Linked DNA regions of Homo sapiens: region 1 is linked to region 2. The links are contacts of gene promoters, found by promoter capture Hi-C in blood cells and fetal thymus (Javierre and others, 2016). All regions are on one chromosome and are shown on one strand. Each heading gives the region's core, a stretch centred on a gene start or on the middle of the fragment in contact. The rest is flanking DNA. Distances are from core to core; before and after follow the strand shown.

What was found. The method cuts DNA at HindIII sites, captures the fragments that hold promoters and counts their contacts. A CHiCAGO score of 5 or more calls a contact.
Region 1: a contact is called between a fragment that was not itself captured here and the fragment with the promoter of RAD54B in region 2, in 1 of 17 cell types (naive CD4 T cells). The highest score is 5.1, in naive CD4 T cells.

Annotation. Positions count from the first base shown.
Region 1 is chr8:94,406,484-94,411,058 of GRCh38, forward strand. RAD54B (RAD54 homolog B) reads right to left here. Exons shown (of 15, transcript NM_012415.3): 5 at 956-1,237. Among named protein-coding and RNA genes, the nearest start is that of FSBP, 28 kb to the right of the region's middle. The HindIII fragment of the contact is 1,264 bases long and covers 2,479-3,742 here.
Region 2 is chr8:94,471,941-94,476,631 of GRCh38, forward strand. It overlaps RAD54B (RAD54 homolog B), which reads right to left and starts at 3,175. Exons shown (of 15, transcript NM_012415.3): 1 at 3,061-3,175. RefSeq lists a silencer at 1,390-1,439 and an enhancer at 2,908-3,137. The HindIII fragment of the contact is 4,488 bases long and covers 2,467-4,691 here.

The DNA.
Region 1 (4,575 bases), core at 1,861-4,360, 66 kb before region 2:
TGGGATAAGCTAATATAGAACTCAGAATTTTTAATTGTGGGGTTTTGTCCCAATAATGCCGTTGATTATTTGTATTTAGGTAAGTCGGTTCATCTTCCTGGGCCTCAGTTTTCTCCAATGCAAAGTGAAGAGACGAATCTAAATGATCTCAAAGGCCTCTTTACTTCAAAACTTATGTTTCCATAATACTTGCAATGGGGAAAAATAATCATTACTTTATATACTTGCTGTTGTGAGGAAAGAAGTCACCTCTATGTCTCAACTTTCACATCTACTACACTATACTTTGATTCGGATTACTTGTCCTTCCCCTCACCAAATGAGAAGCTCTGTGATGACAGTTTTATCTTTAGGCCCAACCCATAAAAGGCAATCAAGAAATACCTGCTGAGTGAACAGTCAAAAGAACAATCAGATACAATCTAGGTTTCTTTTTTTTTAATGTGATTTTTAAAATTGCATTCATCAGTGTGAAAATTAACTGATTGAATGGAACTTTCACTAGTAAAATTTGGACTTTGCATGAAATCTTACCATTCAATATTTTTACACACTAATGCTTGTGATCAAGGCATACAGTCCTCAAATTAGAAGTATAATCATAGTCCAGATTAATACATTTACTAATTTCTCTCCTTACTAAAAAGTCAGATTTTATTCAAAATTATACACATGTATGTGTAATGTATACACATACAATTTAGATATGTTTCCTTCAACACATGTACAGTATTTTTATTACTGTATTCTTAGAATTATTCATTTACATATGAAATAATTCCCAAACTATATTGTTATTTGACTTCAACATTATCTCTTATGTCAGATTATATATCTCAAGAATAATGTATACTTTCACCTAAAACTTTTAAAACAAAATTTAAACTTCAAATTCACACACAAAAAACATTTTGACAGTAAAAACAGAAAATTCAAATTATTTTTAAAATCTTACTTGGCGTATATGGGTCATGGCGTGGTTTGCAATTTTGGAAATCATTCTGTCTATTTTCCTTTGAACTTGGTTTACAAACACTTTTGAAAGGGTTAGAGAAACATTTCCTGGCAACCTGAGAAGAATGCGAGATAGCAGTACTTCCTCCTCCAAGCTGAAAACACCTGCCACTGCTGAAGTCATCTGGAGAGATTACACCCATGACTTCTATTTCTTTTCCACAAATCATCAGTGTTTGGCCCTCTTCAATCTTTTCAAGCTCTTTGAATTTATAACCAATGCCTTTAAGTTAAGAAAGAAAAAAATTAATTGACACTCTATGATACCACGGTCACCTTCCCGTAACTGTACAAAAAAACTGCACTTTGAATGTAAATAGTCTTATATAATGCATTAGCCAAAATGGAAGCATAATTTAACATTTTGGTTAAAAAAAACATTGAAAATCAAAAGAAATAATACAGCTATCAAATTAGCCATGCTTTAGAGAAAGCAAGAATTTTTTTACTATTGAAAATATAGATTATTGTACTCTATAGTTTTGCCATCTCTTGTCCGGAAAAATTAAGCCAAGAAAATAGTTTGATAGGCTATATGTATCCTCCTTTCTTGTAAATAAACTACAGAAACATCATGGTACCTCTATTTTCACTTAGAAACAGCTAGAAATGTGAAGGAGAACTAGCAATAAAAGCAACTGCTACCACAACTAGTACTGACTGTTCCACATGAGATAGCAAAGTTAAAATACAGTTGTGGCAAGAGGTCACAGATATTCCATGTTCTAACTCTTTAATAAAACATGGAATATTTTGTAATATTAAGCTTGTTTGAATTATTATTAATTTGATGAACATTTATTAAGTGTTGCTGTGTAAAGGTGCTGATGAAATATAAGTATGGATAAGTCAGTCATGGGCTGCTTAAAATGAGTTCACTAACCACATAGATGGCATTTTAGACTTCCATGCTTGTCTATTAAATGCATTAAACTATTAAATGTGTAGTTATTGTGCCATTACCAAGCAAAGGAGCTGTGTATACCAGAAACTTTTAAGTCTCTAAAAATAATAATAAAAGACTGCCACATTTTAGAAAATATGATGACCCTTTTCAAGTAGTTGAAAATTACTAAAATTTTCTCTACTGAAACTGGCCTAAAATTTATAATCTGTGCCAATCTGTATTTAATATATAGTCTTAAATTATTTATGGTGGAATACTTTTTAATTGTAATGCTCTGATATAGGAAGAAATTACTTAGCTCAATGTCAAAGACCCATCACTCCATCCCAAATCAGTATTGGTCTTCACTTATCCAAATTAATGAAGATTATAGTTTTATCTTCACATAAAATCCAATTACTGTTAATCTCAGTTTTACATGGAAATGGAAGACAAGAATAACCTTTTAACTTTGAGGTACCTTTAAAGTAGCTCTAATTCCAAGATCTCTCATTTCATTTAGATCCATAGATGATCTTGATCCAAAGGTGACTCTTTCAAACATCTCAGTCGCTAGAAGCTTTTCTTTTACTCTTAAACTTTGTTTCACATACTGGTTTTTTTTTTTTCCTAGGTATTATGCAATGATGGCCAACTGAGCCTGATGCATTATCACAAGCTATTAGCAATTTTAGCATTCCAGCTTTCAGTTTTCTTAGCACCTCTATCTTTACATTAACAAATTTACATATTGTATATCCCAGTTATTTAAAAGAAAAACTGCTTATAGACAGTAACTTGCAAAATTAACTTCAGGTTAATACATTTATTAATGTTATAATTAAGCAACCAAGTCCTATGTTTGGATATTTTCATTTTGAAAACCCTAAAATATACCTATGTTCAGTCCCTCTCCCTACCATACAGGCCAAATAAATCAGAGCCTCAAAGAAAGGTCAGAGTCTGGGCATCGGCATTTCTTTTCTTTTTCTTTCTTTTTTTTTTTTAAGAGACAGGGTCTCTCCAGCCCAGGCTGGAGTGCAGTGGCAGGATCAAGGCTCACTGCAGCCTCGATCTCCTGGGTTCAAGCAATCTTCCTGCCTCAGTCTCCCAAGTAGTTAGAGTTACAGATGCATGCCACTACACCTGGTTAATTTATTTTTTTGTATAGACAAGGTCTTGCTAAGTTGCCCAGGCTGGTCTCGAACTTAGCCTCAAGCAATCCTTCCCCATCAGCCTCCCAAAGTGCTGAGATTACAGGCGTGAGCCACTACACCCTTAAAAGCACCTCAGATGATTCTACTGGCATGGTCAGGGTAAAAACCCACTGTTTTAAGCCTAATTTTCATTTTTTGTTACTTGCAACTGAAAGATCATTTTATTATAAACTACACATATGCAAAACCATGCACACTATACCTTAGGGGTAAAAGATATTCCAAAGTAATTGTGATAATTTTTCCTCTCTCACTGACTTTAGAATTTCACTAAAGAGGCAATACCAATGCATGAACAAATTCTCCAAAAATCTAGCCCCAATCGACCTTAACCAACATAGAATGTGTACTATCTATTTTTCTTTTTACTTCCCCAATCACTATACACAGTTGTTCCATATTTTTATAATAAATAAAACATTCTATTGTAGATAATTTAGTTTGCTTCAACTCTTAACACTGTCACGGCCTTTCATACACTACATTCCTGAAACACTGAACTAGTTTGAATTCCTTCCTGCTTTTGTGCCTTTACATGTGCTATTCTCTCTTGCACATGGCCCTTACCTATAACCTCCAAAACTATTCATCCTTCAAATAGTATCTTAAACGGTAACTCCTATCAAGCTTACCCCTAGCCTCCTGTGCAGATTAAATGGTTCTTTTATGCTCCCACTGCTTCCTGGGCAGATTAAATGGTTCTTTTATGCTCCAACTGCATTTAGTAAAACTTCTCATTGAAACAACTGTATTATTGCTTCCTAATCATCAATTACTTTGCTTTGTTCCCACTAAATTATAAATTATAATCATCTTTGGTATTCCTAGCATACTGCCTGGCACATAATAGTTATTAAAAACTATAAACTATATTTTTAAGTAAATAAACATGTAGAACAGATTTTATAGTTATAGGTCACACTCAAAATTGAACTGAGACAATGCAAAGACACTGTAGTTGGTGTTAGCCATTCTTAATTTGTAGCCTAACTTGTATTACTACAAATTATGCTGGCAACATTTTGTAACAGAAACAATGGCAACCTCCAATTTCCATATGTTAATCTAGGTCAGGCCTAACCATTATCTCCTTGCTCTGTTTTTCAAAACATTATTGAGTAGTGCTGAAATTACATATCATTCAACTTGATATCAACATATTTTTCAATTTTAACCACTTAGCATTCTTAAAAAGAGAGAGAGAGAAAGTATACCAAGTCAAATTTAGTGTTTAAGCTCAGAAAAGTACCAAAATAACTATATATAGCTGGCTGGCCATTTTTGGAGAAAATGAAACCATAGGATAGGATTTGCTTCACTGAGCTAGCATAAACCATAAGATTGTCAGGCTCACTAACCATTATGAGATTATTTTATGTATTATACACAGTTGAGGCATGAACATCCATTAAAGAATACCTTATCATCTCTTTATAAAACCCAATTACATTTCAATTA
Region 2 (4,691 bases), core at 1,925-4,424:
ATGTATCCAAGAAAAAAAGTGTAGCCAATTAAACCATGATACACTATCATTGATGGTTAGACATTTCCCAATTTCATCAATGTTAAAATAATGAAACATGTAAATATTTTATATATAACCAGCCTTTATATAGTTTGAGGAATGAGTAGGAGAGATCACTCTCTTCTGTTTCTTATTCAAGGACAAAATAGATCTCTATTAGTATAATCTTTAATCTTAAAGCAAATTATGAAACAGATGGTTTTTGACTGCTTTAGAAGCAGTATTTACCAATACCAGAAGTCAGTACAAATTCTGACCAAACAAGTCATGCCAAAATAACTTCATTAAACTAATTTCCTTTTTATAATGGGTAAGCAGAATACTACAGGCCTCTAAATATATAACTGACACAAGTTTGAAATTGATTAACGGTAACTGTCACAGGACGACATGGATGTTAGGCCTTGCACTTAGACTCAGTTACTTAATGGTCAAATGAAATAGAACAATAGAAGCTGAAATTTAAAACTAAAGATTTTAGTGACTATAGCTCAACTGAAATAAGATAATGAGCCTTCTTAAACTAATAAATTCTAGATAGCATTAATAAAAATATGATGTCCACATCATGAAATGTAATCAGTTCTGTTCTCTACATTAGTCAGACTCCCCTCTAATACTGTGAAAATTCTGACACTTTTTAAAAAGGAACACTTAAAAAATACAGTAGTTAGAAACATCAACAGTAGAAATGAAGGAAACCAGAGTGTAGTTCAGATTCTGCTATTTCAGGGATGCTTAACTTTGGGGAAGCTATTTAACTCTCTAGACACCAATTTTCTCATTTATAAAATAAAGAATGAACTAGATGCTAAAATTTCTTTCAACACTAAATGCGAAGAATTACTACCCTAAATCCTTCTACATCTAATACATGATTTCTGATTTTTCAATCCTCCTATTTTGTAAACTAATAAAAATGATAATGCAAGCATACAACCATCAGCACAGAGCAGTGGTTAAGAAAACAGACTGACTCTGGAGCCAGCCAGGCTGCCTGGCTAGAATCCCAACTCTGCTACTTACATATGACCTTGGGCATCCATCAAGCCATTTAATTTGTTGATACAAAGTAAAATGCAGAAATCAGTACATTTCCCCCCAAAAGACCATTGCACCCTTATAGCTTTTTAAACTGGTTCTGTATGTTCATATTGTCCTGTCCATAATAAATTAATTAATTAATTAGTGCTGTCTGAGCCCTTTCCCCAGGTCCTAGAAATAAAGCCATTTGGTAGCCCTGATGTGATGCTACAACTTCTATAACACCTATTAGTTTCAGTCCTTCCAAGTAAAATGGTAAGGCCAAGCTGACAACTGTAATACACCAGATAGCCACAAGTACTTGGCACTACACTGTGGTAAATAAGAACACAACTTTGAAAGCAAATGCCTGAATATAAATGTGGACTGACACTTTCTAATGGTCTTGCACAGTTTACTTTGGCTCCATGTGTCTCAGTTTCCTCATCTTTAAGAGGGGGTACCATAATCATGCTTACACACCGGACTGTTGGGAGGATTAAATGAAATATGTAAAGCACTTAGAACAAAACTTGACACATAGTAAGCACTCAATGTTATCTGTTATAATTAGTATTATCGGAGAGTAGAAATGATGAAGGTCCTGTGAAGGAGATAGAGAAGGGGTAGTTCAACATACAGGACAATGACCAGAATCTTTGGGTTCGTCTGGGCTTTAAAGAGAGGTATGTGCAACCATCAAACGTCGAGGATGCAAGAATGTAAGTACACCAACTCTACCAAGAACCAGCAACGGTCTCTCCCTGCTGTTGCTGCTTGTCGACTTCCAACTACATTAGGTAGTAATTATTTCACTTCATGCCTTAAATTGCTCCTTTGAGACTCCGGCTATATAGATGGTTCCTAATTTAGGACGGTGTCACTTAGAATTCTTCGACTTTTAAGAAAGCCATGAGCATTCAGTAGAAACTGTACAAGTAACCACACAACCGTCTGTGTTCATGATTTTGCCCAACTGTAGATTAAGGTAAGTGTTCTGAGCATGTTTAAGGTAGGCTAGCGCAGCCATAAAAAGGAATGAAATCATGTCCTTTGCAGCAACATGGGTGCAGCTGGAGGCTATTATCCAAAGCGAATTAAAGCAGAAACAGAAAATCAAATATTGCATGTTCTCACTTATAAATGGGAGCTAAACATTGGGCATTCATGAACATAAAGATGGCAACAATAGACAGTGGAGACAACTAGAAGGGAGAGGAAAGGAGGAGCAAGGGTTCAAAAACTATTGGGTAACATGCTCACTACCTGGGTGACAGGATCAATCGTATCCAAACCTCAGCACCACGTAATATACCGATGCAACAAACCTGCACATGTACCCCCAAATCTAAAATAAACAGCTGAAAATAATTTTTTTGATAACAAAAGTAGGCTAGGCCAAGCTTTAATACTCAGTAGGTTAGCTGTGTTTTAAATCCATTTTCCATTTGGGATATTTTCAACCCCGTAGTAAGTCGAGAAGCATCTGTTCCTACCTAGAAAATCTTCCATAAGGTAATCGATTAAAAGGTTTTAAGGAAATACAAGAAAAACCTGACCAGTGAAGAGGTAAAAGCCCCTAAAGAAGGCGTACCGACACTCTCCAGGACGCTCGCAGAGCCTTCACCCCCTGGCCCTGGGGAAGGAAATTCCCAGTGCAGGAGTGAGGGAGAGACCCAAAAGCCAAGAGGAGCCTGCGCAAAGCGACCGCAGTGGCGGCCCCAGGGGCCACTGCCCAGAACCATCCCTCCCACACAAACGCACAACCCTAAACCCCCACCGCCCGCCCTTCGCTCCAAGGCCCCCGGGGCCAGCAACCAGGGCGTCCCTGGCACTTCAGACCAAAGCTGCAGGCCCGCAGAAGGCCACTTCGGTCGCTCCTGCCGCCTTCCCTCCCTCCTCCCTCGTTGGCCTGCTCCGGCGCCACTCCCTGCTTTGTCCCGCACGAGCCTACAGGCTGTCGCAGCCTCCCGAGCTTCCCCCTGCAGGACGCACCGGCGAAAATCTGACAGAAACCACTGGCCCTGCAAAGAAGTCCTTCTGGTAACCAGCTATCCCCTCGCCGCCGGAGAAGCTCAAGGATCCCGCCTCGGCGAAGCCAATCGCGGACGAGCCCGCCGCGCGTGCGCACTACCTAGCCGCTGCACTGCCCTGTCCTGCCCTACTCTGATTGGACGACCCTACTGCATCACTGCGCATGTATCTTTGCGTTTGGCTTTAAATGCTTCCAAGTTTGATTCAAGTTTACGGTTCAATTAAAAAAATACTGGTTTAGTGCCTACTTTCAGACACAGTGTAGATGCCGAGGCTACAGACCTCACCATCTGCGTGGATAAGTAATAAATACGGTATGATTCGGTGTGTGCGATAATAGAAATGCGTGCATCGCAGAAGTATACGATATCCTATTGGTTATTCATTCATCCGAAAAAACATTGACTTAGCGGTGCCTGCAGGATAATTTTCAAACTCTTTGTTAGGTTCTGGGAATATAGAAACGAATACGTGATTATTAGGCTCTCAGAAAAGGGGAGCCGCCTCCGGACTTGGAAAAGCATTAAAGCATGTTAAGTAGGAAAGTTACATCATTCAATGAGTATTTACTGAGCACCTTCTAAGTGCTAGGCGGTAACACAGTCAACTATCCCTGAAAAATGGTATTAGAAAGGCTAATCTGAAAGGAGAGAGAATGGCTAAAGGTTGTTTATTGAGTTTTATCCAGCAGTTTGACAAAAAGTAAAAGCTAAAAAATATCAAGGGTGAAATGAAGATGTGAAACAATGGGAACTCTTGGGCTGCTGGTAGGAGTGTAAATAGGTACAGCCATTTAAAAGAGTAATTTGAGGCTGAGAGCGGTGGCTTGTGCCTGTAATCCCAGTACTTTGGGAGGCCGAGGCGGGCGGATCACTTGAGGTCAGGAGTTCGAGACCAGCCTGGCCAACATGGTGAAACCCGGTCTGTACTAAAAATACAAAAATTAGCTGGTTTTGGTGGAGCGCGCCTGTAATCCCAGCTACTCAGCAGACTAAGGCGGGAGAATCGCTTGAACCTGGGAGGTGAAGGCTGCAATGAACCGAGATGGTGCCGCAGCACTCCAGCCTGGGCAGCAGAGAGACCCTGTTTCAAAAAAAAAGAGTAATGTGCTTAAGGAGCTTTTATCCTGGGGACTTTTTCCAGTCATAAAGAGCACCTCATAGGTTGAGTTGTGCTTTTGGCAGCTCCTGGAGCCAGCGTTACAAGAATTTGAAATGGGGACCTGCCAAGGTTGGGCACCTTAGTAAACCGCACCCCCCTCTTCTTTGGACTGGGACACATAAAGAGTAAGGGTAACCAGAAAACAAGCTAGCTTCATAGTGTCTGCAGCCTACCTTAATATCATCTGGGGAGTTCAGAAAATCTAAAACAGATTGGCTAAAGGTGACCTGGGACATTCCTCTTGCAGATTTGCATCTGGTTTGATCCTTCACTTCAGATCATTACTCACATATCAACTTGTCAAAGGGCTTTATCTGACAGTGCATTGCTCTCTTGTCTCATCTTGTATCTCCCTTACCCTGCTTTATAGAGTTCATCACACTTTCCATTCCCTAACATATACTTATTTGTTAATTGTTTTTCTATTACTC